Linked DNA regions of Homo sapiens: regions 2, 3 and 4 are each linked to region 1. The links are contacts of gene promoters, found by promoter capture Hi-C in human tissues and cell types (Jung and others, 2019). All regions are on one chromosome and are shown on one strand. Each heading gives the region's core, a stretch centred on a gene start or on the middle of the fragment in contact. The rest is flanking DNA. Distances are from core to core; before and after follow the strand shown. Region 1 has its middle 7.7 kb from the start of ZBTB32. Region 2 holds the start of FFAR1 (free fatty acid receptor 1). Region 3 holds the start of CAPNS1 (calpain small subunit 1). Region 4 holds the start of OVOL3 (ovo like zinc finger 3).

What was found. Contacts are between HindIII fragments. The study calls those that stand out against the background at their distance.
Region 2: a contact is called between the fragment with the promoter of FFAR1 here and a fragment that was not itself captured in region 1, in 1 of the 25 tissues and cell types used here (lymphoblastoid cells).
Region 3: the fragment with the promoter of CAPNS1 here is called in contact with a fragment that was not itself captured in region 1 in 1 of the 25 tissues and cell types used here (pancreas).
Region 4: the fragment with the promoter of OVOL3 here is called in contact with a fragment that was not itself captured in region 1 in 1 of the 25 tissues and cell types used here (pancreas).

The regions. Positions count from the first base shown.
Region 1 is chr19:35,693,321-35,700,389 of GRCh38, forward strand. No RefSeq gene overlaps it. Among named protein-coding and RNA genes, the nearest start is that of ZBTB32, 7.7 kb to the right of the region's middle. The HindIII fragment of the contact is 5,192 bases long and covers 1-4,544 here.
Region 2 is chr19:35,346,652-35,353,779 of GRCh38, forward strand. It overlaps FFAR1 (free fatty acid receptor 1), which reads left to right and starts at 1,251. Exons shown (of 2, transcript NM_005303.3): 1 at 1,251-4,187; 2 at 4,554-7,128. The coding sequence starts at 4,901. The coding sequence ends at 5,803. CD22 (CD22 molecule) reads left to right here. Exons shown (of 14, transcript NM_001771.4): 14 at 1-710. The coding sequence ends at 46. RefSeq lists enhancers at 323-422, 1,023-1,102, 3,516-3,565, 3,606-3,745, 5,535-6,401 and a silencer at 2,381-2,581. The HindIII fragment of the contact is 9,647 bases long and covers 1-7,128 here.
Region 3 is chr19:36,135,037-36,142,084 of GRCh38, forward strand. It overlaps CAPNS1 (calpain small subunit 1), which reads left to right and starts at 5,030. Exons shown (of 11, transcript NM_001749.4): 1 at 5,030-5,121; 2 at 5,961-6,184. The coding sequence starts at 5,976. It overlaps LOC105372385 (a long non-coding RNA gene), which reads right to left and starts at 4,946. Exons shown (of 3, transcript XR_935954.3): 1 at 4,855-4,946. RefSeq lists enhancers at 5,297-5,346, 5,437-5,496. The HindIII fragment of the contact is 11,049 bases long and covers 1-7,048 here.
Region 4 is chr19:36,105,902-36,112,777 of GRCh38, forward strand. It overlaps OVOL3 (ovo like zinc finger 3), which reads left to right and starts at 5,242. Exons shown (of 4, transcript NM_001302757.2): 1 at 5,242-5,395; 2 at 5,468-5,532; 3 at 6,859-6,876. The coding sequence starts at 5,302. It also overlaps a transcript of WDR62 not described here. RefSeq lists enhancers at 4,841-5,471, 5,472-6,101. The HindIII fragment of the contact is 22,945 bases long and covers 883-6,876 here.

The DNA.
Region 1 (7,069 bases), core at 699-3,198:
CTACTCAGGAGGCTGAGATAGAAGAATCACTTGAACCTGGGAGGTGGATGTTGTAGTGAGCCAAGATCGTGCCACTGCACTCCAGCCTGGGTGGCAGAGCAAGACTCCATCTCAAAAAACAAAAACAAAACAAAACAAAGCAAAAAACGGTGAGAGGGCCTGGTGCCCCCTCTGGAATGTTTTTCATTGTCTAGGTTTGACACTGTGCTGTGCCATCACGTGTGGGGCTGGGGAAAGTGCAGATTCCGGGGCACACGCCTGCCCTTGGAGCAGGGATGGAGTCAGCTCCATCTATAGGGTCTGGTCTGGGAGGAGGGAGAGGGTGCTTGCCCAGAGCAGGCTCAGACCCTAAGCCTGAGCCTAGGGAAGGGTGAGCCGACCCTGGAGGCAAATGGACCACAATCCCCCCTCCCCATCAACCTTCACCAGCGATTCCGGGATAAATGACACAGACAGCACTGAGAATTCCATGGTAGTCGTTATTATTACTGTTGTTTTTATTAATAGCAGGGGCCCCATCACTTACCTGTGGGTTATCAATTTATTACCTCTCAGTTCCATTTGTCATCTGGTGCCAGGTTAGGCTTTGTCAATAGAGGGCGCTGGAGAGCCACTGAGGAGCCAGGGCCCCTCTGCCTCACTCCAGGGCTTTGTGTTCTTCCTACTGCGCTGTGACCAGCAGGTGGCTGCTATGCTCCACATTATAGGGAGTGACCTCCACTGCCACCCTCTCCTCCTTCTCCCTCCTCCTCCTCCCTCCTCCTCCCTCCTCCTTCTCCCTCCTCCTCTTCCTTCCTCCTCCTCCTCCCTCTTCCTCTTCCTCCCTCCTCTTTTCTTTCATCCCTCTTCCTTTCTCCTCCTTCTTCCTTCTCCTTCCTTCACCCTCCTCCTCTTCCCTCCTCCTTTTTTCTCTTTCTCCTCCTCTTTCCTCCTCCGCCTTCTTCCTCCTCCTCCTCCTTCTTCCTACCCCTTCTCCTCCCCCTTCCCCTTTCTTTTAAAAGACGGGGTCTCAGCCAGGCACAGTGACTCACACCTGTAATCCCACCTGTAATCCCTCACTTTGGGAGGCCAAGACAGGAGGATCACTTGAGCCCAGGAGTTCGAGGCTGCAGTGAGCTATGGTAGCACCACTGGACTCCAGCCTGGGCAATAGGGGGAGACTTTGTCTGAGAGAGAGAGAGAGAGAAAATGAGAATCGCACCGTGTCGCCCAGGCTGGAGTACAGTGGCAGGACCATAGCTCTCCAGTGCCTTCTTGAGTCTAGCTAGGGACTTGTCACTTAACCCAACAGATCTATTTAAAACATGAAGTAGAATCATTGTTTCTCACAGAATCAGCTGCCTTCTCAGATCCTCTACAAATGGAAACAGAATCATGCAAAACAGGGAAGGTAAAGGGACAAGAAAATGGTCTTTTTGAAGAGCTGCTCCCAGCCCTGCTGGACAAAATGACCAAAATAGGATCCCTGGTATTAAAGTTCCTCTCATAAAAATCCATTCAGAAAATTGAGGACACTTTGGGAGGCTGAGATGTGAGGATTGTTTGAGGCCAGGAGCCTGGGCAACAGAACAAGGCCCTGTCTCAAAAAAAAAAAAAAGAAAAGATACATATATATATATCTGTACCCAGAGTCAAGACAAGCAATATTTGTTGTCTAAAAACAACTCTGGTTCAGGGTACATCAGTTAACTTTTTTTTTTTTTTTTTTTTGAGATGGAGTCTCGCTCTGTGTCCCAGGCTGGAGTGCAATGGTGCGATCTCAGCTCACTGCAAGCTCCACCTCCTGGGTTCACGCAATTCTCCTGCCTCAGCCTCCCAAGTAGCTGGGACTACAGGCACCCGCCACCACGCCCAGCTAATTTTTTGTGTTTTTAGTAGAGACGGGGTTTCAGCGTGTTAGCCAGGATGGTCTTGATCTCCTGACCTCGTGATCCGCCAACCTCGGCCTCCCAAAGTGTTCAGATTACAGGCATGAGCCCCCACACCCAGCCTTTTTTTTTTTGAGACAAGAGTCTTGCTCTGTTGCCCAGTCTGGAGTGCAGTGGTGCAATCTCAGCTTACTACAACCTCCACCTCCTGGGCTCAAGTGATTTTCTGCCTCAGCTTCCCAAGTAGCTGGGATTACAGGCGTGCGCCACCACACCTGGCTAATTTTTGTACTTTTTGTAGAGACAGGGTTTCACCATGATGGACAGGCTGGTCTCGAGCTCCTGGCCTCAAGTGATTCTCCCACCTCAGCCTCCCAAAGTGCTGGGATTATAGGTGTAAGCCACCACGCCCAGCCCAAGACAGATACTTTAAGAAAGTAAACTGGCCAGGACAGTGGCTCACACCTGTAATCCCAGCACTTTGGGAGGCCAAAGCAGGCAAATCACTTGAGGTCAGGAGTTTGAGAGCAGCCTGGCCAACATGGTGAAACCCGGCCTTCACTAAAAATACAAAACTTAGATAGGCGTGGTGGCAGGCACCTCTAAATCCAGCTACTTGGAAGGCCAAAACAGCATCATTTGAACCCAGGAGATGGAGGTTGTAGCGAGCCAAGATCCTGCCACTGCACTGCAGCCTGGGTGACAAAACAGGGCTCTGTCTCAAAAATAAAATAAAATAAAGAAAAAGAAAATAAAGAAGGGAACTTAGGTTAAGTGAGGTCATAAGGGTGGGGCCCTGATCCCTGATGTCCTTATAGAAAGAGACACCAGGAGTGCACACACACGGAGGGAAGGCCATATGAGGTCACAGTGAAAAGGTGGCCTTCTACAAACCAAGGACAAATGCCTCAGGACAAACCAACCCTGCTGGCACCTTGACTTTGGACTTCCAGTCTCCAGAACTGTGAGAAATAAATGTCTGTTGTTTAAGCCCCCTAGTCTGTGATATTTTGTTACACAGCCCTAGCAGACCATTACATTCAGTCTCTTCTTTGCTTCCCACTGTGTCCTTTCTACCAAGCACCATGCCTAGCACATAGTAAGTACCCCCAAAAAGATGCACAAACATCATCGCCTCCTGTGGGAAGCTGTCCCTCACCCTTCTCCACTCCTTCTCCCCTTAGCTTAAGTGCCTCTTCTCAGCTTCAGTTCCTACACTTTCCACTTGGCTCTTGAAGAATATGTTTTGAGGTCTAATTCCTCTCTAGCAGGTGAAATGTTTGAAGGCAGGGGCTGGGTCTTCCCCAGGGCTCAGCACCAATGGCATGCACCATCAGAATTTTTTGTTTTGTTTTTTTGAGATGGAGTTTCGCTCTTGTCACCCAGGCTGGAGTGCAGTGACCCAATCTCAGCTCACTACAACCTCTGCCTCCTAGGTTCAAGCGATTCTTGTGCCTCAGCCTCCTGAGTAGCTGGGATTACAGGCGCCCGCCACCATGCCCGGCTAATTTTTGTATTTTTAGTAGAGATGGGGTTTTGCCATGCTGGCCAGGCTGGCCTCCAACTCCTGACCTCAAGTGATTAGCCAACCTTGGCCTCCCAAAGTGCTGGGATTACAGGTGTGAGCCACTGCGCCTGGCCAGGAGTTTAATAAATATTTGAGTGAAAGTAAGTTTCTTGACCTTGACGCATGGGCCCTAGAGAGCTAGAAGACCTGAATTCTAAGCTTCATTCCTGTGCAACTGTGGACACTGAGCCTCAAATGTAATCATGGTCTGGGGTTTTTCCAGAGATCAAAGCTTGGGGAAAGTCCTTTGTTCTCTGAAAGGTACAGGGTTATTTTCACATCTGTTATGAACACTCGTGCCGTTGAGCTGAGCTCCTGAGTCTTAGTCAGCTGCCTGGCTCCAGGTGGACTTCCTGCTGTACCTCAGATATACTAAGCTCACTCCTGCCTTGGGGCTTTTGCGCTTGCTACTGCTTCTGGGAACACACTGCCCCCAGGCTTTCCCATGATCCCTTAATTTTCAGGGTCTACACCACAGCCAAGGCAGATGACACTGATTGCAAGGAAACAACTCGGTTACAGGGCATTGGGGAACAGAAGAAATGCCACTATTCGGCTCACGCCTGTAATCCCAGCACTTTAGGAGGCCGAGGTAGGTGGATCACAAGGTCAAAAGATCGAGACCATCCTGGCCAACATGGCGAAAACCCGTCTCTACTAAATATACAAAAATTAGCTGGGCGTGGTGGCCCGCGCCTGTAGTCCCAGCTACTCAGGAGGCTGAGGCAGGAAAATCGCTTGAACCCAGGAGGCAGAGGTTGCAGTGAGCCGAGATCGCGCCACTGCACTCCAGCCTGGAGGGCAGACTCCATCTCAAAAAAAAAAAGAAGAAGAAATACCACTGCTCTATTAGTTCATTTAATCCCCTCAATGACTTTGAGAGGTACACACTTTTTTTCTTTTTTTTTGAGACAGGTTCTCACTCTGTCACCCAAGCTGGAGTGCAGTGTTGCAATCATGGCTCACTGTAGCTTCTACCTCCTGGGCTCAGGTGATCCTCTTACCTCAGCCTCCCCAGTAGTTGGGATTACAAGTGTGTGCCACCACACCTGGCTAATTTTTGTATTTTTTGTAGCCATGGGGATTCGCCATGTTGCACAACCTGGTCTTGAACTCCTGAGTCCAAGCAATCCTCTCACCTCAGCCTCCCAAAGTGCTGGGATTACACATGTGAGCTACCACGACCGGGAGTATGTACCTTTTTTTTTTTTTTGAGATGACGTCTCGCTCCGTCACCCAGGCTGGAGTGCAGTGGTGCAATCTCAGTTCACTGCAACCTCCCCCTCCCAGGTTCAAGCGATCCTCCTGCCTCAGCCTCCCGAGTAGCTGGGATTACAGGTGCCTGCCACCACACCCAGCTAATTTTTGTATTTTTAGTAGAGATGGGGTTTCACCGTGTTGGCCAGGCTGGTCTTGAACTCTTGACCTCAGGTGATCTGCCTGCCTCGTTCTCCCAAAGCGCTGGGATTACAGGCATGAGCCACTGCACTCAGCCACTCAGCCCTTTTTTTTTTTTTTTTTTTTTTTTGAGACATAGTCTCACTCTGTTGCCCTGGCTGGAGTGCAGTGGCATGATCTCAGCTCACTGCAACCTCTGCCACCTGGGTTCAAGCGATTCTCACGCCTCAGCCTCCCGAGTAGCTGGGATTACAGGCTTGTATTTTTAGTAGAGACAGGGATTCACCATGTCGGCCAAGCTGGTCTCGAACTCCTGACCTCAGGTGATCCGCCCACCTCGGCTTCCCAAAGTGCTGGAATTACAGGTGTGAGCCACCATGCCTGGCCAATATGTACTATTAATATGCCCATTTATGATATGACCATTTAATATGCCCAGATGAAGAGATTAAGGCCCAGAGGGGTTAAGCAATTTGCCAAAGGTCTCACAACTAGTAAATAACAGGGCCAGGATATGATGCAGACAGTTTGGATCCAGCATTCAGCTACCTAGGCTGCAAGGCTCTCTGCTTCTCAGTGTACAGTTAAGCTTAGTTAGTGTAGGATCTGGCATGGGGAGTTGCTCAATAAGCAACTGAAGGCAGGGGCTTTTTATTTATTTTTCTACTTCTTTCAGACATTTAACTCTCCAAATCTTACAGTCCAACCCCCCAAGCCAAGCCAACAACCCTTCCTATACCATCTTGCCAGAGCCCAGGGTCCCTCACTCCATCTTCTCATGCCTTCCTGGCCCATAAAAAGGATTCAATAATTTGTAGTAATTAGCTGGGCATGTTGGCATGTGCCTGTAGTCCCAGCTCCTCAGAAGGCTGAGGCAGGAGGATCGCCGAGGCTAGGAGTTTGAGGCCACAGTGTGCTACGATCGCACCTGTGAATAGCCACTGCACTCCAGCCTGGGCAACACAGCAAGACCCCATCTCTAAAAAAACAAAACACAGGAAACCTGTATTGTAGACCAGCTTATTAAAACAGAAAGAAAATAACCAGGTGTGGTGGCACATGCCTGTAATCCCAGCTACTCGGGAGGCTGAGACAGGAGAATCGCTTGAACCTGTGAGGCAGAGGTTGCAGTGAGCCGAGATCGTGCCATTGCACTCTAGCCTGGGCAACAGAGTAAGACTCTGTCTCAAAAAAAAAAAAAAGGAAAAAATATGAATAATAAAAAATTGTAGCAATTATCACTAGGGCTTCTCAGTGAGAATCAGTGAGAAACTCCAAAGGTTCTGAGGCTGTAAAGTATATTCCCAACCACCTTTAGGGTCAAAGTTGGGACAAGATGAACTAACTGTAAATAAGGCTTGTTGAGTGAGAGGACTTCTCAACCAATCCAACCCAGGATCTACCAGACAAGCACTTCCTGAAGGTAATGTGGTTCAGGGGTGATCTCCTGGGTCAGGCAGATCTGGGTCTGAATTCCAGCTTCGGTTACTCCTCAGGGAGTAACCGAAGCTGGATCCGCCCGCCTTGGCCTCCCAAAGTGCTGGGATTACAGGTGTGAGCCATCAAGCACCCAGCCGGTTTTTTTTTTTTTTTTTTTTTTGAGATGGAGTCTTGCTGTGTCTCCCAGGCTGGAGTGCAGTGGCGCAATCTCAGTTCACTGCAACCTCTGCCTCCCGGGTTCAAGCGATTCTCCTACCTCAGCCTCCTGAGTAGCTGGGATTATAGGCATGCGCCACCATGCCCAGATAACTTTTGTATTTTTGGTAAAGATGGGGTTTCACCACGTTGGTCAGGCTGGTCTCGAACTCCTGACCTTATGACCCACCCGCCTTGGCCTCCCAAAGTGATTGGATTACAGGCGTGAGCCATCATGCCCGGCCTCGTTTCTTCATCTTTCAAATAGGAAAAACACAGTGTGAGGTGTGATGAAGAACTCAGGCTTGGATTCAGGTCTTGCATCATTCTACTCCTTGCTCAGCCATGGACTAGCTGTGTGAGCTGAGATGAGGAGCTTCACCTCTGTGAGCCTTGGCTGCCTATTCCAATGCGTGTTGGCGTCATTCTGTTTCCTATAGTGGCTGGGGATTCCCTGGGACCATGTGTGTCTGCACTGTGGTCACTGTAGTTGGCAGGATGGAGGCAGTGTATAAAAATGTTTAGGAGCTTAGGCTCTGGAGTCAGACTGCAACAGGCCTAGTTCAAATTCCAGCTCTGACAATTACTCCCAGTGAGATCT
Region 2 (7,128 bases), core at 1-2,500, 350 kb before region 1:
GCCTCAGGCACAAGAAAATGTGGACTATGTGATCCTCAAACATTGACACTGGATGGGCTGCAGCAGAGGCACTGGGGGCAGCGGGGGCCAGGGAAGTCCCCGAGTTTCCCCAGACACCGCCACATGGCTTCCTCCTGCGCGCATGTGCGCACACACACACACACACGCACACACACACACACACACTCACTGCGGAGAACCTTGTGCCTGGCTCAGAGCCAGTCTTTTTGGTGAGGGTAACCCCAAACCTCCAAAACTCCTGCCCCTGTTCTCTTCCACTCTCCTTGCTACCCAGAAATCCATCTAAATACCTGCCCTGACATGCACACCTCCCCCTGCCCCCACCACGGCCACTGGCCATCTCCACCCCCAGCTGCTTGTGTCCCTCCTGGGATCTGCTCGTCATCATTTTTCCTTCCCTTCTCCATCTCTCTGGCCCTCTACCCCTGATCTGACATCCCCACTCACGAATATTATGCCCAGTTTCTGCCTCTGAGGGAAAGCCCAGAAAAGGACAGAAACGAAGTAGAAAGGGGCCCAGTCCTGGCCTGGCTTCTCCTTTGGAAGTGAGGCATTGCACGGGGAGACGTACGTATCAGCGGCCCCTTGACTCTGGGGACTCCGGGTTTGAGATGGACACACTGGTGTGGATTAACCTGCCAGGGAGACAGAGCTCACAATAAAAATGGCTCAGATGCCACTTCAAAGAACCAGTGAACTCTTTTCAGTCTGTGGAGTCAGAGTGGGGATGAGGAGAGGGGAAAGTCTTCATGGGGCCTGGGGGGAAGGAAATGGAGTCACAGTGGTTTACTGATCAAACCAGCAGATTAGAGAGTCTGGTGTCTTGTTAGGAAAAGCATACTGGCTTTGCAGACAGACAAACATGAGAACTTGAATCTTGATTCTTCGGCTTAACTAGCCCGGTGATCTTGGCAGGGCTCGCCAGCTTGCCTGAGTCTCGGCTTCTCCATCTGTAAAGTGGAGAGGGAAAGGCCACTGCCTACCACGCAGGTGGCCCACGATAGGAAGTGAGGCATCGTCTTCTATATGCTGGAGCCACATTGAGACCCAGCACAGAAGCCGAAAGTCCCCCAGAAAACCAACCTCCATCCTTTATTTGCATTTTTCGAAGAATGTGAAAAGGGGAAGCCGATTCAAAACAGCTCTTCCCAAAAGTGACGCTACCCAATTCTTGCACAACCCATAGCTGCCAGAGAAAGTCTTGAAGACCAGCCACCCTGAGAAACCTCACAGCTTTTCTGTCATTCGAGGTCCTCTGCACCCGTTCTCTAATTCTGTTCACTGATTCAGACTTTCCAGTTAGGTGCCCCAGCTCCCCTCTCCGCTTCTCGGGTTTGATCTTTCTCCACCCATTCACCTGCTTCTGCAAAGGGGCTAAAGCCCATTCTCCTTAGAGGGCAGGGGTGTAATTATCTGATCATCAGGGAGATTGGCTCCTGGCACGTGGCAGGTGTCCCCAAACTGCCACCTTCCTCTCCCACCTTCCTTTCCCTCCCATCTCTGCTCAGTACCCGGACGGTAACTCTAGGAATTATGGTTCAGGGAGGCCTTGATCGCCCCATCAATCCACTTTGTCCCTGGTTTGATTCTTGTGAGCACCATTAACTTTTCTGGAGGAAGGTGAGGCTTTAAGAACTGTTTAAAGCCCAGGCGTGGTGGATCACGCCTGTAATCACAGCACTCTGGGAGGCCAAGGTGGGCAGATCACCTGAGGTCAGGAGTTCAAGACCAGCCTAGCCAACATGGTAAAATCCTGTCTCTACCAAAAATACAAAAATTAGCTGAGCGTGGTGATTCACACCTGTAATCTCAGCTACTTGGGAGGCTGAGGCAGGAGAGTCGCTTGAACCTGGGAGGCGGAGGTAGCGGTGAGCCGAGATCACGCCACTGCACTCCAGCCTATGCAACAGAGTGAGACTCCGCCTCAAAACAACAACAACAAAAACTGTTTAAATGAGACAGGAGGGTGTTGGGGTGTCTGTGCCCAAAATGGGGTCTGGTGTCATTCAACTCTTTCTTCATTCATTCTGCACACAGATACTGAGCACCTGGAAATGCACCCAGTACAGAGCCAGTTGTTAGGACACCAAAAAGATAAGGCGTAGGACCAACCTTGGGGATCTCTAGTCGAGAGCCGCCAAGGGTTTTTAAGGCAAGATACCCTGGAGGGAGCTGAGGCAGTCCTAAGCCTGAAGGGCCTGGCTTAAGCTCCCTGGCAACCATCGAGCATCTTCCCCTTCCCACCCTGTCCCTCAGCACAGCTGCTGACATAAACCTACTACATGGCTGATTGACCATGAGATATGGCCATCAATAGACATTGCTGAGGCGTGAAGAGCAGGTGAAGAGCAGGTGGCCAGGAAGCTAGGGGGCCAGGACTCCAGACGCAGGCCGCCCTCCACAACCCCAGCTCTCACAGTCCTCCCAGGGTCCAGACAATGGATCGTGCATTTAGGTTCCCAAACACCTGCTGTGCAACGTGTAGTAGACAAAGCAGACCAAAGCCTTTGCCCTCAGGAGGCCGGCATTCTAGCTCAGGAGCCAGCCAAGACGATGTCGCACTGAAGAAAGACAACAAAAGTGAGATTCACAGGAGGGATGAGTGTGGCTGAGGCACCCGGGAAGGCCCTCGGAGAAGGTGACCTTGGGCAAAGATCCAGACGCCAGGTGGGTGGGGCCAAAGCAGAGAAGATCTGGAAAACCCAATGGCTCCCCAGGGCTTCGCTCTTGCTGCAGGAGGGGAAACCACACTGCTGTGGATTCTTCCTCCATTCTGTCCATTTCTCAGTTCCCAACAACACACTGAACAGTAGGAGGCCAGTTCTCCGCTCACAGCGGGCGCTGCACCCCAGGTGCTGCTCTCGAGAAAAAGGCGAGCATGGACCAATTTAGTGGCTCCGAGGTATGAAAAGCAGTGAGATGGTGTCTTTGAGGGAGTTAGTGATAGGCTGAGACCCCCTTGCTGTCCCCCCTGAAGCCTGGTGACCAGAGCTGCCAGGAGGCCACACAGAGAGAGGTTTATGATGGGGGACCTGGAATTCGGAAGGGGCAGAGTGGTCAGGTGACCCATACACGCCTGAGAAAACTGATGTGGAGAGCTGTGTTGTCATTCTGAGGCAGGAAATAGAGACAGACTGACAGACAGACAGAAAGACACGGGCACATTGAGAGACAGAGACAGAATCACAGAGCAGAGCTGGCTTCTCACCAGCAGGCGTGGGCACACCTGAGAGAGCATCCAGAGAGGTTAGAAATCTTCCTTAGGTCCTCCTGGGAGGCTCAGGTGACCCCAGTGGGAAACATGAAAGGCTGGGAGGACTTCCAGGGCTGAGAGAAGGAAGCTACGCAGCCGGCCGGTGCCACATTCCCTGTGCCTTGGGGAGTGTCCCCCAGTGTCCCCAGCCATGCACCCTGGGGGGAGTCGGCTTGGACATCTGTGCCACCCCTTGACAGGCAGAGTGGGGGCCACAACCTGGGCCCTCCAGTGCTGGTCAGCAGAGGCTGCCCCCGCCCCTTGCCTTCCTCCTCCCGCTCCTTCCTCCAGCCCTGGGAAGGTCGGAAGCCACCACCATGGGGCTAGTGCGGAAGCAGAGGGAGAACAGAGGGGCCCTCCTCGCAAAAACTAAAACAAGCCCACAGCCTGTGCAGAACCGCACCCGGGTGTGATCACTCCTTACCCCACACACCCACTGCCACTTGGAGATGGCTTCATGGCTGCAGTCACAGGGCACCCTGTGTTGTCAGGGGTGAGCCAGTGAGGCCCGGGACCTGCCCAGGGGTGCATCAAGGGTGGAGAAGACCTGGCCCCAGCGCAGGTGTGAACAGGCAGGAGGGCTGGGGAGGGAATAGCGCTGGGTTGTGGCCGAGCCCCCAAGCCCTGCTCTTGAGAGGCACTGGCTACACACTCGGCCCCTACCCAGACAGGACCCCAATTCCTCCCTGGCCCCTCTGTGTTCCTGCATCTTCCCAGCCCCTCACCTCCTCTGGCGTGGCCTCACCTCCAGCCGGGATGCCCCATTAGCTGCTCACCCAAGCTGCTAGAACCTCAGGCTAATGGCCCTGTCACCCGCCCTCCTCCCCTTCCGGCTCACTGCCCATCCCGGGCATCCTCCATCAGCCCGCTGAGGGGACTGCTGAGCCTCAGAGACATCTGGCAGCACCAGGAGGTGGGTCCCTCTCTCTGTGGCTCCTCTCTTCACCTGACTGTTCCCCAGACCCCCAGACCCCCTGCCCAGGTGGCCCCTGAGAACTGCTAAGCTCAACCGTGACATGGATGGGGCCTGGCTGACCCTTGGGCTCTCCCTGGGGGACCCCCTTTTCCTGTCCCTGGCCACACCCTCACCTTATCCACACCCTTCTCCTCCCTGCTGCCCCGCCGGCTTTCCAATGTGGGTGGGGGGTGGGGGCAGCTCCTGCCTTGCCAGGGAACCAGGGAGGGCAGTGGGCTCAGGAGTCAAACTCCCATTCCCAGGGAAGGCTCAGGCTGTGGGCCCAGCCCTGTTCTGAATTCTCTCCACCCCTCCTCCCCACAGAGTCTCAGAAATCGAGAAGCTTTCTTCCTCTGGGACCTGTGCGCCACATCCTATCTCCTGTGACGCTGCAGGAGCTTCCCTGGTTTTAAGAGGTGACATGGTGGAGAGAAAGCACAGGACTGGGGGCCACAGGTCCTGGCTTCTCATCCAGGCTCCGCTGCTCCCTGACTGCTGCCTTTCTCTGTGGGCCTCGTTTCCTCCCTGATCCCACCAGGTGAATTGTAATTCTCCACACAGGGCTGGAACCCGCGAGTGATCCCAGGAGCCCCTCCTCTCCGGGGCCCCAAGATCTGAGGACAGGGAGCCAGGTTGCACACAGGAGCCGTGCAGGCCAGGACGGCGGCCCCATGGACCTGCCCCCGCAGCTCTCCTTCGGCCTCTATGTGGCCGCCTTTGCGCTGGGCTTCCCGCTCAACGTCCTGGCCATCCGAGGCGCGACGGCCCACGCCCGGCTCCGTCTCACCCCTAGCCTGGTCTACGCCCTGAACCTGGGCTGCTCCGACCTGCTGCTGACAGTCTCTCTGCCCCTGAAGGCGGTGGAGGCGCTAGCCTCCGGGGCCTGGCCTCTGCCGGCCTCGCTGTGCCCCGTCTTCGCGGTGGCCCACTTCTTCCCACTCTATGCCGGCGGGGGCTTCCTGGCCGCCCTGAGTGCAGGCCGCTACCTGGGAGCAGCCTTCCCCTTGGGCTACCAAGCCTTCCGGAGGCCGTGCTATTCCTGGGGGGTGTGCGCGGCCATCTGGGCCCTCGTCCTGTGTCACCTGGGTCTGGTCTTTGGGTTGGAGGCTCCAGGAGGCTGGCTGGACCACAGCAACACCTCCCTGGGCATCAACACACCGGTCAACGGCTCTCCGGTCTGCCTGGAGGCCTGGGACCCGGCCTCTGCCGGCCCGGCCCGCTTCAGCCTCTCTCTCCTGCTCTTTTTTCTGCCCTTGGCCATCACAGCCTTCTGCTACGTGGGCTGCCTCCGGGCACTGGCCCGCTCCGGCCTGACGCACAGGCGGAAGCTGCGGGCCGCCTGGGTGGCCGGCGGGGCCCTCCTCACGCTGCTGCTCTGCGTAGGACCCTACAACGCCTCCAACGTGGCCAGCTTCCTGTACCCCAATCTAGGAGGCTCCTGGCGGAAGCTGGGGCTCATCACGGGTGCCTGGAGTGTGGTGCTTAATCCGCTGGTGACCGGTTACTTGGGAAGGGGTCCTGGCCTGAAGACAGTGTGTGCGGCAAGAACGCAAGGGGGCAAGTCCCAGAAGTAACGCCACTGCTCGGGGGAAGGAGCATGGGGCAGGAGGGCCCGGCTGCTTCTCCAGGCCCCTGCGGGGGGCTGCTTCGGAGGAACTGCAGGGCAGCCTGGCCCGGAGGCCTCCCTGGAGCCACTCAAGCAGAGAGCGGCGCCTGCTGAGGGCAGCACCCCAGTCAAGAGAGGAGCACCGAGCCAGAGCACGGTGGCAGGGGGAGGTAAGTTTGCCCCTGCACGTGTCGAGGAAGTTTGTCCCTTCCTCGCCTATCTTTCTCTCCCCTCTGCACGTCCTCACCTGCCTGTCTTCCGTGGGCCGCGAGCAGAGGCCTTGTACTTACGGGAAGGAGGAGGCAGTCTGTTTCTGACCCACAGGAACTGCCACTCCGGTGATGCACTTGAGGACAGCTACTCTGAAATCAGTTCCCAGGAGAGAACATTTGATTTCCGAGTAGGAGAGGAGGCAGGAGGCAGGATAATGACGCTGTTATACCATGTGAAACTCGCAAGGGGGCAGCCTTGGAGCTTGGAACGGAGGCTGGCAGGAAAAGATGCTTCAGCCGGGGAGGGAAAATGCAAGGTCCCGCAGTGATGGGCAAAGGCTACGGAGTTGACTCTTGAACAACGTGGGGATGGGGTGCCGAACCCCACGCAGTGGAAAATCTGTGCATGACTTTGACTCCCCCAAAGTTCAACTACTAATAGCCTACTGTTGACCAAAAGCTTTACCCAGTATATAAACAATTGAGTAAGACATATTTGAAGCCAGGCACAGTGGCTTATGCCTGTAATCCCAGCACTTTAGGAGGCCGAGGCGGGAAGACTGCTCGAAGCCAGGAGTTCAAGAGCAGCCTGGGCAAGATAGTGAGACCCCCACCTCTACAAATAATAAAAATAAAAATAATTAGCTGGGCGTGGTGGTGCGTGCCTGTAGTCCCAGCTACTCAGGGGTCTGAGGTGGGAGGATCCCTTGAGCCCAGGATTGAGGCTGCAATGCCATGATCGCACCACTGCACTCCAGCCTGGGTGACAGAGCAAGATCCTGTCTCTGGAAAAAAAAGAAAAAAGACATATTTTGTATGTTATATATATTATGTGCTGTATTCTTACAATAAAGTAAGCTAGAGAAAAGTACATGTTACTGAAAACATTATTAGAAAGAGAAAATACCTTCACAGCACTGTGCTGTATTTATCAATACTGTAAGTTTTGTTGTCTGTTTATAAGAGAAGTTGTCTGTCTCAAGCGGCAGTAACCGCGGCTGCAGATCTCAATCTGTGGTAGATATCAAGCAGTTCAACCCTTTTTTATAATGTCATGACTTTTCTTTGCTTCTTGGAAGCA
Region 3 (7,048 bases), core at 3,780-6,279, 440 kb after region 1:
ACCTCAGCCTCCCGAGTAGCTGGGACTACAGGCACATGCCACCATGCCTGGCTAGTTTTTGGTATTTTTTGTAGAGATGGGGTCTTGCCATGTTGCCCAGGCTGGTCTCAAACTCCTAGGTTCAAGCGATCCTCCTGCCTCAGTCTCCCAAAGTGCTGGGATTCCAGGCATGAGCCACCGCACCTGGCCCTGTTGTGAGAACTTCTGACTCTTTCCTGGAGTGGGGTGCAGCCAGGGCAGGGCTCTGAGCCTACAGGGCCCTGACCTGACTCAGGTGGTCTCAGGCTTCCTCTGGCTCCACAAGAGGAGCAGACAGCAGGGAGCAGACAGAAGGGAGCAGGCTGTGGGGTGTCCAGGTGGGAAAGGATGGAGGCTGTGGCAGGGTGGGGACAGTGGAGGGGAAGAGTTTAGTTTCTGTAGGTGGAGCCAATAATATCTGCTGACAGGTTGGAGTGGGTGTGAAGGAGAGAGGTGAAGGACCACCCCGGAGTGTTTGGCCTCAGTCACTGGAAGGACAGAGCTGCCACTGACCTAGGTGGGGAAGGTAGTGAGGGAGCAGGTTCTGGAGGAAGGTCAGAAGCTCAGTTTAGGATATGTAAAGCTTAAAATGCCTCTAAGGGCCAGGTGCATTGGCTCACACCTGCAATCCCAGCACTTTGGGAGGCTGAGGCGGGTGGATCACGAGGTCAAGGGATTGGGACCATCCTGGCCAACATGGTGAAACCCCGTCTCTACTAAAAAATACAAAAATTAGCTGGGCATGGTTGCGCATGCCTGTAGTCCCAGCTACTCGGGAGGCTGAGGCAGGAGAACTGCTTGAACCTCAGAGGTGGAGGATGCAGTGAGCCGAGATCGCGCCACTGCACTCCAGCCTGGTGACAGAGCAAGACTCCGTCTCAAAAAAAGAAAAGAAAAAGAAAAAGGAAAAAAAAAGCCTCTGAGATCTTCCATCCTTTCCCATGGAAATGGTGAATATGATGCAGGATGTAGGAGCCTGGAGTTCGCAGGAGGTGTCTGGGCTGGAGATAGAAATTTGGGGGTTAGGGTTAGGGCCAGGTGCAGTGGCTCACGCCTGTAATCCTAGCACTTTGGGAGGCTGAGGTGGGAGGATCACTTGAGCTCAGAGTTCAAGACCAGCCTGGGCAACACAGTAAGACCTCATCTCTACAAATAATTAAAAAAGAAAAAAGATAAAGGAAATTTGGATGTTTGCCGGGCGTGGTAGCTTGTGCCTGTAGCAGTAGCTATTCAGGAGGTTGAGGCAGGAGGAGGATTCCTTGAGGCCGGGAGTTACAGGCTGCAGTGAGCTACATCACATCACTGCATTCCAGTCTGGGTGACAGAACCCCTGTCTCTAAGAACAACACAAAAAACTGGGCGTTGGCCGGGTGCTGTGGCTCATGCCTGTAATCCCAGCACTTTGGGAGGCCAAGGCGGGTGGATCACAAGGTCAGGAGATCGAGAACATCCTGGTTAACACGGTGAAACCCCGTCTCTACTAAAAATACAAAAAATTAGCCAGCGTGGTGGCAGGTGCCTGTAGTCCCAGCTACTCTGGAGGCTGAGGCAGGAGAATGGCGTGAACCCGGGAGGCGGAGCTTGCAGCGAGCAGAGATCGCGCCACTGCACTCCAGCCTGGGCGACAGAGTGAGACTCCATCTCGAAAGCAAAACAAAACAAAAAACTGGGCGTTGATAGCCTAGAGACAGGATTTAAGCTGTGCATGTAGGGGAGGCACCCCATGGCATGAGTGGTACAGAGAGGAGGATAGAGACCTAACACCTGGGGCTGCCGGGAATAAGGGGTTGGGGGCCAGAACTAGATGACAATATGGTTACGATTGGCAGTGAGTGCCATGAGAAAGTACAAGTCATTTTGAAAGCATATAACTGGAAGCCTCACCTAGTCTCAGGTTGGGTGGAGACAGGGAGGTCTTTCTGGAAGAGATGACTCCTGAGGTGACACCTGCAGCCTGAGTAGCTACACAATCAGGCCAGAAAAAAAAAGGCAGCAGGGGAGTTCCTGGCCGAGGGCATGAGGGCTGGCAGCAAGTGAGCCTCGGGAGAGGGCAGAGAGCTGGAGCAGTCAGTCTGGCAGGGAGGGGTGTGGTGAGAAGGGAATCTGGATTAGTCATCACCAAAAGATCTGTGCCAAGCCCGGGTTCAGATCTGGTTCTGCCACCCTCCGTGACCCTGCCTTTCAGAATCTCCATTCTCTCTCCTGCCCTGCAGACAAGGCTTGTGTAGCAGTTACCTTGGCCTGGCCCCAGCAAGGCCTCAGGAAACATCAGCTGCAACTAGTTTTGTCTGTTGTGATGTTGTTATTTGACCTATTATATTAATTATATTATTAACGCATAAGGGTAGTGGTTAAGGATACAGGCTAGGGAGAGTGACTGCTTGGGTTTAACCTCAGAGTCGGTTTACTTATCTGTAAAATGGGGATAATAAATAGCATCTATGTCACAGGGCTGTTAGGAGAACAAGGGAACTGATGGACGTCAAGCACTTGGAGGAGTGGTTGATGGTTACTTGTTTTTGTATCTTTTTTTTTTTTTTGAGACAGTTTCGCTCTTGTTGCCCAAGCTAGAGTGCAATGGCACGATCTCGAGTCACTGCAACCTCTGCCTCCCGGGTTCAAGCGATTCTCCTGCCTCAGCCTCCCGAGTAGCTGGGATTACAGGCACACGCCACCACGCCTGGCTGATTTTTTGTATTTTTAGTAGAAACAGGATTTCACCATGTTAGTCAGGGTGGTCCCAAACTCCTGACCTCAGTGATCTGCCCACCTCGGCCTCCCAAAGTGCTGGGATTACAGGCGTGAGCCACCACACCTGGCCTGTTTTTGTACTATTTAAGGAAGACTAAGAGTCTACCAGCTGAGGAATACAGCTGGCCTCGAGGCTGAGGGAACAGCATGAGCACAGACACAGAGCTAATGGGGGCATTTACAAAGCATTTATCACCAATTTATTTATTTATTTATTGGAGACGGAGTTTCACTCTTGTTGCCCAGGCTGGAGTGCAATGGTGCAATCTTGGCTCACTGAAACCTCTGCCTACTGGGTTCAAGCGATTCTCCTGTCTCAGCCTCCCGAGTAGCTGGGATTACAGGTATGCACCACCACATCCGGCTAATTTTGTATTTTTTAGTAGAGACAGGGTTTCTCCATGTTAGTCAGACTGGTCTCGAACTCCCGACCTCAGGTGATCTGCCCGCCTCAGCATCCCAAAGTCCTGGGGTTATTGGCATGAGCCACTGTGCCCAGTATTTATTTGAGACAGAGTCTCGCTCTGTCACCCAGATTGTAGTGCAGTGGCATGATCTCGGCTCACTGCAACCCCCGCCTCCTGGGCTCTGGTGATCCCCCCACCTCAGTCTCTAGAGTAGCTGGGACTAGGCGCATGCCACCACATTCAGCTAATTTCTGTATTATTTGTAGAGACAAGGTCTCACTATATTGCCCAGGCTGGAGTCAAACTCCTGGGCTCAAGAGATCCTCCTGCCTCAGCCTCCCAAAATGCAGGGAATACAGGCATGAACCACTTCACCCAGCCACCACTTAAGTTTTTTTTTTAATAATCAGTATTGCTGCAGATATCATTTAATTTTGATAGGGGGCCTAGTGGTATGGAGCAACCCATGTTCCCATTTTACAGATGAGAAAATCGCTGCTCAGGAATATCAAGCCACTCTTTTGGGGTTGTGCAGTTATTACAGGGCACAGCCAGGATTCAACTCAAGCCTAGCCAGCCTGCAGGGTAGGGGATAAGAGCCAGCCAGCCTGCCTGGGGGCCAGATTTAGCTCCCCCCGATGAGTCCTGAAAAAGTACTGGACTCCCGTGGCTCATGCCTGTAATCCTAGCACTTTGGCAGGCCGAGGCAGGTGGATCACCTAAGATCAGGAGTTTGAGACCAGCCTGGCCAACATGGTGAAACCCCGTCTCTACTAAAAATACAAAAATTAGCTGGGTGTGGTGGTGCATGCCTGTAATCCCAGCTACTCGGGAGGCTGAGGCAGGAGAATCGCTTGAACCTGGGAGGCAGAGACTGCAGTGAGCTGAGATGGCGCCACTGCACCCCAGCCTGGGCAACAGAGCAAGACGCTGTCTCAAAACAAAAAAAAAAAAAAAGAAAAGAAAAGAAAAGAAACCAGGCTATGTAAAAATATTATTGTAAAAAATTAAATTAAATCAAAAAAAGGCCGGTAGCCCATACCTGTAATCCCAGTACCTCACAGTACTTTGGGAGGCTGAGGCAGGAGGACGGCTTGAGGCCCGGAGTTCAAGAGCAGCCTGGGCAACATAGCGAGACCTCCGTCTCTATTATGTAAAAACAATAATATTTTTTAAGTAAATAAAGAAACCAGGCCGTGGCCAAAGGAATCTTCCTGTGTCTGGGGCCTTCTTTAGAGGCTAGCATACTGAGGACACTCTTTGGGCCAGTCCAGGAAGGAATGATTCTGGTGGCCCCTGACTGGGGCGGGGGCGTGGTAAGGTTCGCCTGGGAGGCGGCGCAGGCGCTGCCTGCGGTTTGACTGCCATCCGGGCTGCTGCAGGCACTGGGAAAGGCAATCCAGCCTCAATCCTCGCCACAGACACGGGCGACTGTCCCCCAGCGTGTGAGTCAAACCATACTCCAGGCCTCCAGGAGGTGTTTGTCGCGACAACACCTGCAGAGGGCCCGTGCGGAGTCCCTTAGTGAGCGGACCGAAAACCGCCACCCTGGAAGGATATTGGCATGCCCTAGGGTGAAAATTCACACTACGACACTCGGGGGGTGGGTCCCCTCCGAGTTCTCGTCCGCGGGTGCCTCCACCCAGACCTGAGGGGTGTCGGGAAGACCCCCGCCTACCGAGTCAGGGCGGGATTAAGACCTCCGGCGCTGGAAACGCGTAGGGCGGGGCCCAGACCTGGATCCAGCTAGCCGGGCGGTGTGGGGTGCGCATGCGCAATGTCCGCTTCGGCTCTAGGACCGCGCGGGCGACAGCAGGGCCGCGGTGCAGTGTCCGACCCGAGAGTTGCGGCCTGAGTCACCGGCCCCGCCCTCCGGAGCCGGACGCTGCGGGAGGCCCGGGAGCGGCAGTGGAACCGACTCCCAGAACTCCGGACGTGTGCGGCGGTAAGCGCCCGGCCCGTACCCCCTCCGCACCCCGCAACTCCGACTTTGGCGGCCCCCAGACCCGGCGAAACCGTGAAGTCTCGGCCTCAGGAGCCCCCCAGATCCATGGTCTCAGATTCGAACCCTCAGACCTGTTCGATCTCCTTTTATGCCGTCCCGGGGACCCTTCTCCACCCTCTGTCTCATGATCCAAAATACAGGCCCATAGGTTTCAGAGATACCCTGTGAATTCTTCCTTGGGGTGTCCTGAACCGCGATCGTAGATCTGTGCCCCCAGTTCCAGCGGGGAACCCCATTGTCCGGGAACCCAGAGCTCACAGCCACGATCTTAGACCCGAGCCCACAGAGCCAGAGGTGACACTGGAATCCTGCCGCTGGGAATACCTAAATTCTCAAGCCCACATTTGGGATTTCCTAAACCCCGCCCTGGGGCCCTTTAGGCCGTGGATGTTTGCTCCGCGCCCATGACCTGCCAAGGACCTCTACATTCAGGCTGGGCTCTGGATCTCACATTCTAGCGCCCAGACATGTCGGGAACGCCTTACGCCAACTTGGGGTCCCCACCAAGAGAACCCCCACCAGATCTGCACCCTCCCCTTCACGCGTGCACCCAGTCCAGGCTCCCTCAAGCCCCACGGGTGCCTTTTAGACCTGAGGAGGTTGCAAACCTGATCCCCCATACCTGCCCCACCCATCCGCGGACAACCCGCCCTCGCAAACTCAGACCCCCACCCGGAGGCTTCAGATTCCTCCCAGGTCCAGCTGCCGGAAATGCGTGTTTGAAGGGAGGGTGTGGGCTCAGGGGCGAAGCACCCACTGGTCCCCTTTTTTCCCCCCAGCAGTGAGTCGCAGCCATGTTCCTGGTTAACTCGTTCTTGAAGGGCGGCGGCGGCGGCGGCGGGGGAGGCGGGGGCCTGGGTGGGGGCCTGGGAAATGTGCTTGGAGGCCTGATCAGCGGGGCCGGGGGCGGCGGCGGCGGCGGCGGCGGCGGCGGCGGTGGTGGAGGCGGCGGTGGCGGTGGAACGGCCATGCGCATCCTAGGCGGAGTCATCAGCGCCATCAGGTAAGGCGGAGACTATCAGAGGGGCGGGGCCTGGGAATGGGAGGAGCCTCAGTGAGGCGTGGTCTGGGAGGGGCGTGGTCTAAAAATAGAATAGGATTAACCTGGAGGCTAACCTGGGTACATGAATTAGGCCGGGGAGGCCTGGTTTGAGAGTTCTGCTGTAAGGGGGTGGACCCCAGTGAGGCGGATATCAGTCATTGGGGGCGGTGCTTGATATGGGAGTAGTCTGATTGTGTGGGACCAGGACAATGTGGTCCTGAGGGGACTGATGTGGAGTTTTGGCGGGTGGGGCTTATGGGTCTGGGCTCAGCCTGCATTGGCTAACCTGGAGATGAACGTTAAAGGTGCGGAGCCAATGCGTCTGAGTGACATTTTACGGAAGGGGCTTGACTTATGAGTGTGGTCAGAGGTTTTAGGTGGGTTAATGAGGAGGTGAGCCCAGGAGGAAGCAAGACCTAATGGGGTAGGGTAAATGGCCCAGAATGGGCTGGGCTTGCTGGGAACTGGCTGGATTAATGGAGAAAAATGCCCTGGTAGGGATAGGGCAGGTTGGCTTAATTAGCCACGGCCACTTAGCAGTGATCCCTTGAAGGGGCGGGGACCAATGGCTGGGGTAGGATGTTGGGAAGACGGGCATTTAGGAAGCGGGCCATGGAGTAGGGTCTTGGGCAGATGGCACCTGAGGAGGATAAGGCCTTGGGAAGCTGGGGCAGAGCCTCTATGAAGTGAGCCCTCCAAGGGGCGGGGTCTTTTGATTCTACGTGGGATTTTTTAGGTTTAGGGTGGCCAAGATGACTGAAATCTGCCACTGGGTAGGTGTGCCTGGCAGGAGGGGAGCCTCCCAGGGGACCGGTCTCTGGGTTT
Region 4 (6,876 bases), core at 3,992-6,491, 420 kb after region 1:
TTGGCCAGGCTGGTCTCAAACTCCTGACCTTGGGAGATCCGCCCACCTCGGCCTCCCAAAGTGCTGGGATTACAGGCATGAGCCACCGCACCTGGCCAAAACCCCGTCTCTTTAAATAAAACAAAATAAAACAAGAAACCCAGGCAGGCTTGCCCACTGTATGATCCTGGCAGCAGGCCCAGGCCACGAGCAGCTGGGACCAATAACTGCTTCCCCTTCAGAAGTTCTACATTCCACGAGCTCCCAGCACTGCTACCAGCTCCCCCAGACAGCAGGCATCTGGCCACATGGGGTGTCTGCTAAAAAAGCCACTCTTGGCTGGGGTGTGGTGGTGCACACCTGTAGTCCCAGCTACTCAGGAGGTTGAGGCAGGAGAATCGCTCAAACCCAGGAGGCAGAGGTTTCAGTGAGCTGAGATCACACCATCATTGTACTTCAGCCTGGGTGACACAGCAAGTCTCAAAAAAAAAAAAAAAAAAAATCCTGCCAGTTCCCACCCAGGTGCCGGGCACTGTAGCAGAAGGAACATCAGGCAACGCACCTGCCCTCATGGCCACTCACCTTCTATACAGTCAAACAGATGCAGGAATTAGAGCTCTGTATAATTCTAGATAGGTTGGGGAGATCCATTGCTGGTGAAGGGTCAGGGAAGGCCTTTCGAGGTGACATTTGGGCTGAAGCTTGATAGAGGACATCTCAGGAACACATCCAGGCCGACAGCACAGCCAGTGCACAGGCCTGGGGCAGCCACACGTGATCTGTGTGGAAGCAAGAGGAGCGAAGCCCGGACGGCTGGAATGGAGTGAGCAAGGGGAGGGCAGGAGCTGAGGTGCAAGGAGGAGCAGGGCCTTGTTGCTTCATAACATTTAAGTCCAAGGAATATCCAGAACAGTTTTTTGTTTTTGGGTTTGTTTCTAAATCTCTGCTCTTAATGTTTGGGGGATATCCAGTGTTGCTTATTTCTCACGACTCTGCCTCAGGGAGTCCAGGTGGTCCAGAACTTGAACCACCTGCCTAGGCCTAGGCCCATCTGCCTAGTTCGGCCACCATTGCCCAAAACCTTGCCCAACATCCCTGGGCAAAGCTTGGTGTTCAGCCCCCCAGGCCTCGGACACCCAGGAGACCACCTTGGGCCTCTGTCATGCATGGAATTACCCTTCCTTCCAACCTGTATCATAGTAAAGTCTTCTGCTCCAAGGAGTAAACACCTGGCTTTCAGGGCCCAAGATGGAGGGACGTTGGTTACCCTTGATGTCATCATGCACCTGGCCTCTTCCTCTCCTGCTCTGTTATCCTCTGTGAGCAAGCTTCAGTCTCCAGCTTATGGCCTCATGGTTGCAACACGGCTGCTGTGGCACCCAGCAGCACACCCTCAGGTGGTGTCTCCATTTTGCAATTGTTGGCTTTCCTGCAGCCCTGACTGAAGTGCCTGGCATAAGCCTGGAAGCGCAGGAGCTAGAAGCTGCCCCGATAGTACTGCTATGGGGAGGCTGAGGTTAGATGTGGAGTGCAGGGGGCTCACAGAGGGTGACAGCAGGAGAGGAAGAGGCCAGGTGCACAATGACATGAGGGTCAGAGGCCCAAGTTATTGGTCCCAGCTGCTGGGTGGCCTGGTCCAACCAGGAGCAAAGGCACAGAGCAGGGCACCCTCTAGGGCAGCAGAAAAGATGCAGATCTCTCCCAGGGGTCTCCCTGGGAGACTCATCTGGGGTCAGATGAGTCCCAGGCAACAGGAATGGAGATTGCTTTGATGTGCTTGGACCATCTCTCCTGTCCTGGGCATGTTGCAGCTCAAACAAAGAGGTTCTCTCAATAAGAAAGGCAAGTGGGCTGGTAATCAGAGAGGATCCAGCATGTCTGCCACTTCCCTCTTCCAAATGCCAGGCTCTGTCCTGGAAGGACCATACTTTCTCCATACTTCTTAACCAGGATAAACCACCTGGTTAAGAAGCCACTGCTGGTGGTGCAGCATGTGTGCATGTGGTTTGTGAGCTGACAGGGTCCCAGCAGAAAGATGACAGCATGCTTAGATGGGATATTCCAAAGAGTTTAACCAAGGGATCATTTGCAAAGGAGCAGCAGGGACTGGGAAACCACCGAGGCTGGTGCAGAACCCCAGGACTGGCACCCTGGGAGCTGTTACCACCCCCAGGCCACAAGGCACAAAGAGAAGGAACAAGAACCCAAAAGAGCAAATCCCAGGGAGAGGGTAGTGCTGAGGGAGCTGCAGCCCTGACTCCCACACAGGACGGAGTGAGAATCAACACCCTGACCTTACTCCCCTCCTGCAGGGCACCCCATTGTCCAAATCCTACTGGAAGCCAGAGTGCATAGAAGCCCAGGTGACCCCGCCTCCAGTCAACCTCCTAGGCCATGGAGCAGGGCAGAACAGGACTGAGAGGGTTCCTGGGGAACTGGGTCCCTGGAAGGAAAACAGTTCATCTTTCACTGCAACTCCCCCCCTGCTTCTACCCCCACATCTACCCTTGGCCTCCCCATAGCAGTACCATCAGGACAGCTCCTGGGTCCTGAGCTGCCAGGCCCGTGCCAGGCATCCCAGTCAGGGCTGCAGGAAAGCCAACAATTGCAAAATGGAGACACCACCTGAAACCCCATTTTGCAGATGACCCACCTGAGGCCTGGATGTTTGCCCAGAGGAGGGATTCCTCGGCAGGATGCAGTGGCTCATTCCTGTAATCCCAACACTTTGGGAGGCCAAGGCAGGCAGACGGTTTGAGCTCAGGAGTTCAAAACCAGCCCTAGGCAACATAGCAAGACTCCACCTCTACAAAAAATTTTAAAATTAGCTAGGTGTGGTGGTGCACGCCTGTAGTCCCAGCTACTTGGGAGGTTGATGTGGGAGGATCACTTGAGCCCAGGAGCTTGAGGCTACAGTGAGCTGTGTTCACTCCACTGCACTCCAGCCTAGGTGACAAAGCAAGGCCCTGTCTCAAAAAAAAAAAAAAAAAAAAACCTTCCTAACCAATCCCTGCTTATATGTCTGCCACATGCCAGGCCCCATGCTAAGCATTCTCTCCATGTGAGCTACATGGATCTTCAATACAAACTGGGAAGAGGGAGATTCCTTAGTCTCATTTTCCAGGTGAAGAAACCGAGGCCCAATGAGAAATGACTTGCTCTGGGTCCTGCAGAGAGCAAGCGGAAATGCATGGCCAGCAGACCCTCAGCACTGCCACCCTTGCTTCCCCAAATGAATTGGCACAACTGACTCTCGGGCAATGTAAAGAAATGAAGAAATACTCCTCTCACCAGCAAGCCTTGTACAGATGTCCCCCTCTGACTAGAACACCCTCCCCTTTCATCTGAAACCTTTCAGCGCTTATCCAGGAAGCCATCCCTGTACCCGTAGCCTGGATCAGGAGCCTGTTCGGGTCCCCAGGTACCCCTCTTTTCCCCATCATGGCTGGGTCTCTGCCTCACTTGCCTCTCACTGTCTTGGTCATTCTGGGCTGTCACTGGTGTGCCTCCTTCATGGACTTACGCGATCATTTTCAGTAAGCTAGGTCTGGAGCTTAGAAAATTGTTTAGTTGCCAGGCGCAATGGCTCACGCCTGTAATCCCAGCACTTTGGGAGGTTGAGGCAGGTGGATCACTCGAGGTCAGGAGTTTGAGACCAGCCTGCCCAACATGGTGAAACCCTATCTCTACTAAAAATACAAAAATTAGCCGGGTGTGGTGGTGCGCACCTGTAGTCCCAGCTACTTGGGGGACTGAGGCAGCAGAATCGCTTGAACCCAGGAGACGGAGGCTGCAGTGTGTGGAGATCGTACCACTGCACTCCAGCCTGGGCAACAGAGTGAGAATCTGTCTCAAAAAACAAAACAAAACAAAACAAAAAAAATAAAAACAGGTTGGGCGCGGTGGCTCACGCCTGTAATCCCAGCACTTTGGGAGGCTGAGCCGGGCGGATCACCTGCATTTAGGAGTTTGAGACCAGCCTGGCCAACATGGTGAAACCCCATCTCTACAAAAAACACAAAAAATCAGCTGGGTGCAGTGGTGTGCCCCTGTAATCCCAGCTACTTGGAAGGCTGAGGCAGGAGACTCACTTGAACCCAGGAGGCGGAGGTCATAGAGGAGCCAAGATCACGCCATTGCACTCCAGCCTGGGCAACGAGCAAAACTCCGCCTCAAAAAAAAAAAATTAAAAAACAGAGCTTGGATTGCTTCTTAGTCTTCTGGCTAAGAATCAAGTGTAAAACAGCTTGGCCAGTGTGCCGGGGTAGGGTCCTGGGAGCCCCTGGCTGTGTCAAGAGACCCCCTTTGGGCCAGGTGCGGTGGCTCATGCCTGTAATCCCAGCACTTTGGGAGGCCAAGGCAGGCGGATCACTTGACGTCAGGAGTTCAAGACTAGCCTGGCCAACATGGTGAAACTCTGTCTCTACCAAAAATACAAAAATTAGCCCGGTGTGGTGGTGCATGCCTGTAGTCCCAGCTACTCAGGAGGCTGAGGCAGGAGAATCGTTTGAACCCGGGAGGTGGAGGTTCCAGTGAGCCAAGATGGTGCCACTGCACTCCAGCCTGGGCAACAAGAGTGAAACTCCGTCTCAAAAAAAGAAAAAAAAATAGGAGACCCCCTTTTACTTTCCAGACTGTGGGAGGGAGGAAGAGTGTTGTCCCAGGCAGTAACTAGGGGCTAGATTATTAACAAACTAGTATTTTAGTGCCTGCTACACCTGAACAGTGCTTCTGGCTGAATGTTAGCCCTGGGAATCTGAAGATCAGAGAGGTGGGGCATCCTACCTGAGGATGCACAGCCTGGATCCTCATTTTGCCCTGATTTATCCAGATCTGCTGTCCTCCCTGCACCCTACAGAGCAGGGCAATCACAGCAGGGGGCCCCTTCAGTGTCCTCAGACAGCTGCTGTGATTTGAATAACCAGGCAGGCTGCTGGATGTCCCCTGGTGACTGATTTGCCTGGCAAACAGACCCTCAACCCCTGGGAGACAGTCCCCCTGGGGCCTTGTTTCTTCTTCCTATCCTCAAAAGCTCCCCAGGCCCATCTCCCCTTGCCTGGCTCTGCTTGGTGGTCCTAGTGCTTGTCCACCCCTGGAGGCTGGATGGTTCCCTCCAAAACCTGGGAGAAGATGGGCAGGTCCCCAGGCAGGGGTAACCTGAGCCAGCTTAGTCCACTCCCAGGGCCAGCCAGGAAATTTGCATGAAGAGAATGAGGTTCCTCAGAGGCTTCCCCTCCTTTCCCACCAGGGATAGTCATCCTGGGGCTGAGGTCTGACAGCAGGTGGAAGCAGCCCCTGTGTGTGGAGAGCCTTCCGGAGGGCATGCCCCGCGCCTTCCTGGTCAGGAGTCGGCGTCCACAGCCCCCCAACTGGGGCCATCTGCCTGACCAGCTCCGGGGAGATGCCTATATCCCAGGTGGGCCCCTCACTGTGCCTGGAGGTAAGGGGCAGGAGAGACGCAGTGTCACCATCTGGCTTTTCTCCTCAGACTGCAGCAGCCTGGGGGGGCCACCGGCACAACAGTCGTCCAGTGTCAGGGATCCGTGGACAGCGGTGAGTGTGTAACTGGCTAGCAAAGCCAGCTGTTTCGCTCCTGCCTGCTCTCAGCCTTAATGAAGCTGACAGCCCCTTGCTCCCCCGACCCATCTGCACACGCCCTCCAGCCTCGGGACCTGTCCGCCCCTACTTCTCTGTGTTGGGAATGCCTCTCCTTTCCTAGTAGTGAGCTCTCTACTGTTAGGTCTCACCCCAGGCACCAGGGCCGGCAGCCACAGGGATCTCTTCCAGCGGGGCACAAGATTCATCCCCACATGTGGATGATCCGCTTTATGTCAGAACATGGGACAAGGCAACAGGAGTGCGATGGGAGATAAGGGCTTTTTCAGCTGTGCATGCATTGGAGGAAGGAAAGCGCCAGCCGGAATGTAATATATTCATGAAAGCAAGGCACTGTTCTAGGCATGGGCTGTTATATTCAGCGGGAATAAGACAAAAATCCACAATTTTATGGAGCTTATATTCTGGTTGGGGCTGCATGTATAGACAATAAAATTAGTCAGCCTGTAATTCCAGCACTTTGGGAGGCCGAGGCGGGTGAATCACTTGAGGTCATGAGTTCGAGACCAGGCTGGCCAACATGTTGAAACCTTGTCTCTACTAAAATTACAAACATTAGCCAGACATGGTGGCACGTGCCTGTAATCCCAGCTCCTCAGGAGGCTGAGGCAGGAGAATCAGTTGAACCTAGGAGGCAGGGCAGAGGATGCAGTGAGCCGAGTCTGCGCCACTGCACTCCAGCCTGGGAAACAGATCTAGACTCCATCCCCCCTCAAAAAAAACAATAAAATTAGAAAAATAGACCGGGCATAGTGGCTCATGCCTGTAATCCCAGCACTTTGTGAGGCCAAGGTGGGTGGATTGCTTGAGGTCAGGAATTCAAGACCAGCCTGGCCAACATGGTGAAACCCCATCTCTACAAAAAATAAAAAAATTAACTGGGCATGTGGCGCATGCCTACAATCGTGTAATCGTGGGGAGGCTGAGGCACTAGAATCGCTTGAACCCGGGAGGCGGAGGTTGCAGTGACCTGACATCATACCACTTCACTCCTGCCTGGGCGACAGAGCAAGACTCTGTCTTTAAAAAAAAAAAATGTGTATGTCACATCAGAAGATGGGACTTGGCATAGAGAAAGTAAGGACCATGGGATAGTGAGGGAAGGCCCTGGAGAGTGACAGGCACACACACTAATCACTGTCTCCCACCTGCCTTCCTAATCCTCCGTGGTGGCTCAGGACACTCTGTAAATACTCATTTGCAGAGTAACAAAGGGTGGATGGGGTCCAGCCAGAGAGGCTAATAACTCCTGCATCCCTCCAGCAGCCCACACAGGGCAAC